2 separate regions of the Homo sapiens genome follow, and region 2 is linked to region 1. Evidence: promoter capture Hi-C in 16 types of primary human blood cells and fetal thymus (Javierre and others, 2016). All regions are on one chromosome and are shown on one strand. Each heading gives the region's core, a stretch centred on a gene start or on the middle of the fragment in contact. The rest is flanking DNA. Distances are from core to core; before and after follow the strand shown.

Evidence for each region. Contacts are between HindIII fragments. The CHiCAGO score rates a contact against its expected background, and 5 or more counts as called.
Region 2: a contact is called between a fragment that was not itself captured here and the fragment with the promoter of LINC00158 in region 1, in 1 of 17 cell types (M0 macrophages). The highest score is 5.4, in M0 macrophages.

What each region holds. Positions count from the first base shown.
Region 1 is chr21:25,430,269-25,432,968 of GRCh38, reverse strand. It overlaps LINC00158 (long intergenic non-protein coding RNA 158), which reads left to right and starts at 1,268. Exons shown (of 5, transcript NR_024027.2): 1 at 1,268-1,791. The HindIII fragment of the contact is 1,417 bases long and covers 1-1,282 here.
Region 2 is chr21:25,736,310-25,739,009 of GRCh38, reverse strand. The region is part of intron 1 of GABPA (GA binding protein transcription factor subunit alpha); the gene reads right to left. Among named protein-coding and RNA genes, the nearest start is that of GABPA, 2.7 kb to the right of the region's middle. The HindIII fragment of the contact is 2,283 bases long and covers 237-2,519 here.

The DNA of each region.
Region 1 (2,700 bases), core at 19-2,518:
CTGACTAGTTTTTTTTAAATGAAATATGATTAAGAGAAAATAATCTCTGATGGGCCCATAACCAGCAACTTTGGATATTTTTCATTAAGTGGAAGAAAAATATAGACTTTGGCAATTGAGACGATCTTCATTAATAAATAAAAGGATTGTTCCAGATGTGCTATAAAATAAATACATTGAGAAGATGTGAAAAGCAAGAGGGTTTAATACACAGCCAAAATTTTAGTGTCTCTATTGGTAATAATCAGAATAACTTGTTTGATTATACCATTGTGATTTAGTTGGATCACATAATATGTTGGTATTTGGCCATTTGGGGCCATGAAACAACATTTTCTTATGGTTCAATCCCCAATAATGGGAGATTTTTCTCTCCCTCCTCTGTGTCCCAGGAAATGCTTCATTTCCCATGAGCCCATTGAAAAGAGGCTGACTTAGGTTGAATTTGCTGACAAGTGTGTTGGTTCTTCTTTCTTCCCCATTTCTATATGTTTGTCCATCTTCCATGTGGAAGCTGTGGACTAGTTAGAGGTAATCTGCTACTTGATCAAAAAGGATAAAGAAGTTCATGAAACTTCAATGACCTCTGTACTTACAAGTCTCTTTTAGAGAAAATGGCCTGAAGCAGCATCTTCCTGCAACCTTTTATATGACATTTACTCACATTGAGTGAAAAAAATGGGTTCAATGGATTGGACCAGAAATCAGGAGGTAAAGTGTACTAGTGAGAAGGAGATGAGAAATCATGTGAATTAAGAGAGATGATCTCAGTTTCTGATTTTCCAGTTCCCAATATATTTATAAGAGGTCTGGGTGTATTTTATTTTTCACTTTTGAATGTCTATGAAGTTGTCCTTTATAGTCTTCCAGCAAAAATGTTTTTATTTGCCCTCATTTGGGAAAACTTTTTTCATCACTGAATAATCCCTGACCAGCACAAAAATTAAATGGGGGTAATGTCATGTATATAATATAAACTCTTAAAGATAATGAAATACATCTACTTAAAAAGAAAAATGTTCTTTCTCTTGTGGAACTTAGGTTTCAGAATGGAAGTGTATTTTATATTGGCCAATTGGACTGGCTGTGAAAGACCAGTAACCAAGCAAGAGAAGTAGATGTTGCTTTAATGAGGTATAAACTATATCTTGTTAAATAGGTCTTATCTTAGACAAGTAGTATAAATGCACACCCAAACATCATTCATTTGCAATACAGAGGCATTTAGAAGTGATTCACATGGATTTTTTCCTTTTATTTTTGGAAAGGATTAATCTAAGCTTCTGCTGTGTATGGACCTGTGGCTACATTACAAAATTCAGTTGTGAAGCTATAAAATCAATTAGTCTAGACCTCAAATCTTATTTCCTATGAAAAGCCTCAAACTTGTAGCTGTATGAACAAGTGTTTTTGGAATTTTTTTTTTTTTGCTAGAATGGAGAGAACACACTGGAGATCACAAATGCATTTATTCTTTTTCACCAACTGTTTCATTGGCCTTAAAAAATACTAGGCTAAACTTAAGTGGTAAAGATCTGAAATAAAAAGATGCATCTTTATGTCTGAACAGCAATTTTTCATAGGTCTCTAATAACTTGCATTTCCTTATCTATGGATAAGGAGATCTGAAATTGATCTACATTTTCTTTAGTAATGTTTTCTCTGTTTATTGAGAACAGATATCTTCATCTCCTTCATGCATTATCCTTAGTAACAGATGTCAGTAGGATCCAGAGCCATTTTGGAACTTTACCAAGGATTAAGGATGAGCACAGATCACATCAAGAGTCTGTAAGAAGACAGTATTTCTGATTTAGACCCATAAAGACAGTATCTCATAATTGTGAGCAAAGATTGCATGTGAAGGATTATATTTGTTTTTCCTGACAAGATGTTGCATACTATGGAATGTAAATTTTTGTGATGATTGGAGAGGAACTGAGCTCCTTTCTAGCTCAGTTTCTTTCTAGCTCAGTCCCTTTCCAATCACCATAAAATGGAAGCACAAACCTTCAACAAAATATATTCCTTAGCTGAGCTTGAGATTTTGCATAGCCTCTCATTTATTCTTTCTAGAATCAGTAAAGTGCATTAGGATTCAGAAGACTCCACTTGTTCTATTTGCTCTCCATTGCATTATGACTTCATCAGGCACTGCTATCATGGGGCACTGGTAACAAATGTATGTACTTTCTAAATACTTACGATGTAGTAGCTAGGTGGCTACATGTTGGGCAAAATGGGATAAGACAATATCATTTTAACATGCTTCAAGTACTATGTCAAGGTCTTACTATGTACTATTTCATTTTAATCCTAAAAAAAAAAAAACACTCAGAAGAAGGTATGATCGGGTATATTTTATAGATACAGAGGCTAGAGTTCAGAGACATGAACCTACCTGGCCCCCTCTGCACATAAACAATTATTAAGTAAGTGGATGTTTCGGGAGTCAAATCCAAGTTTATTTTGTTCCAAATCTGCTTCTCTTAATTAATATATTCTACTGCTTCCAGATACCATTATTTACCTTTAAGTGACTGAGATTCTAATGATACTGGTAAACCTGTTAGTAATAAACCGAGCAGGTTACAATGAAAGAAAGTATAGACTCTAAGAGGCTATAGAGAAGGCACATAAGCTGGGTTGACAGGATGAGACAAGGCATTCTGGAGAAGGTAATTGTGGTGGGGGAGTAAC
Region 2 (2,700 bases), core at 129-2,628, 310 kb before region 1:
ATATCTAGCAGAATGCGCAGGCTCCAGCAGGCTTTTTTGGGGATGATGAAGAAATGAAGACCCTCTGTTTTTGGTTTTTTTTTTTCTTGCTGATGCTGGTCTAATAAGCCTTCCTTTTCTCCAATAAAGCCTATTCCTTAACTGGTGCTATGTGTAAAATTGTGGAATTCATCCTGAGGGCTGAAGAAAACAGGTGGAAACCGAGTAGGGATCTACCTTGAAGGACAACATAAGCTTCCAGGGCAAGAATATGTGTTCACAAATATATACAAAGTACTCTGAAGAGTACTACCTTCAGCAGGCACTCCACCAATATGTGTTGAATAAATGAATAAGAACTATTTCACACCATATAAAATGAACTACACATGCCTTAAAGGATTAAACATACAAGGCAAAACTATGAAACAGAAGAAAATGGTGGGGACATTTTTGTGGTCTCAGGATAGAAAAAGATTTCTTAAATAAAATTCCAAGAACATAACCGTAAGGAGAAAAATCTGATTACATAAAAATCAAGATTTATGTTCAACAGACAGGCTACAGAATGGAAAGATGTTTCCAATACCCAAAAGTGACGATGGAATAGACAATGGCCTGGAATTTGATAACCAAAAAAAGGGACAAATTAGAAAAGTAGTTAAAGCATAGGAAAAGGATATTCACATAACGGGAAACCAAAATAACTCAGGATACAAAGAAATGCCCAAATTCAAATCATTCAAAAGTTCAATTTAAAACAAGAAACTACCACTTTATACCATGTGTGTGTTGGGGGCAGGGGGCGGCGGCGGCGGCAAATGTCAGAAAATTAAATAACGAGAGCAGTTAGCAGGGACATAAGATTCCCCTATCTCTGGAGATGTGGTGTACACACAGGTGTAGACATTCTGGAGAAAAGTATATCAAGCATACTCATACCTATAACCCAGCAATTTCATCCCTAACTAAGCATTCCAGAAAAATTCTCAAATTGGTTAACAGGATTGATTGACAATGTTCAGGGCAGCTTTATTGGTGACAGCTGGTGCCAATCCAAGTGTCTATTTTAAGAAAGTATTAATCAAAGAAAATGTGGAGAAAGTATACACTATGGAATTTCAGTATTGGTTAAAAGGAAATAATGTCCACACAAAATAGATATATTATAAAAAACTGTTGTCTACAGAAAAAAGTGAGAATCAGGTTTATAGCAGAATAGCACTTAAAAAAAATCACTTATTTTCAGGGCTTATAAAGAGGTCCACTCCCATCTCCACAACCAATTTTTTTAAAATTAGAAAACATAAATTTTCTGGAAACTTTGGCAAGATAGAAAAAAAAGCATTATGATGTAGCCAGAGGCTGAGAAGTGGCCCTAATGGCGTATCAGCAGGGACACCTGGGGCTCCCCTAACATAAACACTAAAATAGGAAGTTGCTACAAAGAAATTTATCCTATGATCTTTCAAAAAATTTATAGACCAATCCCTAGAAAGTGCCAAATAGAGAAAAAACAAAACAAAACAAAAACCCATGCCCTTTTGGAGAAAAAAAAAATTACTCAGTTTCTTAAATGATCTGTCAAAAAATATTACTCAGTCTCTTAAATCTTTCTTTCTCTCCTGGTTCTCTATGCTTAGTCCAGAGAAGCAAAACAGAGATTTGAGAAATAGTCCAAATCTTTCATATCAGTTTTTGAGTGAGTCTTATCTCTTTTTCTGAAACCAATTCCTCAGGCTTCTATGTCAATACTTAGGAAAACTGAGAGAAAATTACTTGCAGTTTCTCCGTCTAAGGGCTGCCCCCGCCAGAACTGCACAGAACAATTTCATATACTTTGACACTCTGGTTCTGCTGGATTAAATCCAACCTGGGGTTCGGAATGTTTCACAAGATGGGATACAAACTAAACTTGAATTTAACGAAAAATTCTGGGAACGGCTAGTGTCTTTTAAAATACAGATAGGTGTAACATTCCCTTTTGAAACTACAGATAAATTTGAGAATTGTCCTTCATTGGAGAGCATTATTACAGAGCTTAGAACATTTTGTTCCCAATATATTATAAGTGGAGTGTGGGGGTACCTGCGAGATTAACTGCACATTTTCCTAAGTTATCAAATGCTTTTCTGTGTCTGAGGAAATTAAAAGACATTTTTATTTTCAAAAATAAAGGTAGCAGTTAAGAAAAAGCAAAGCATACATATCTATGTAATATAAAAAGAGAAAGCACATACAGTGAAAGATTAACAGTTGGGACCCTCAGGTGAAGGGTATCTGCGTGTTCACTGCATGATTTTTTCCCCAATTCTTCTGTAGGTTTGGAGTTTTATATATAAAGAGTTGAGGGAAGGCTAAAGTCAACAGTTTTAATTTAGTACTCGGTCTGATGATTTGCTTCAACCTAACATCTAGCTCATGATTTAATTACTTCATTACTATACATGCCTCATGACAGATGCTCTTGTATACACAATTCAGGTAAAATTGACTTGAAGTCCACTCAGCGTCACTGTATGTCTAAAAATAAAGAAGCTTGGAAAGCCTGGATGGAACCCTGAGAGACAGGCTAGTCCCTCAAGCAGTTGCTAAAGAGTTGAGCGGTTTCTTCTGAAGTTCAAGATAACACTACCGAAGAATGTTATCACCGCCTCGTTCTACAATTCGCTCAAGTGAATCCTGCTAAATCTTTGCTCTTCTCACGAGTCAGACCTACTG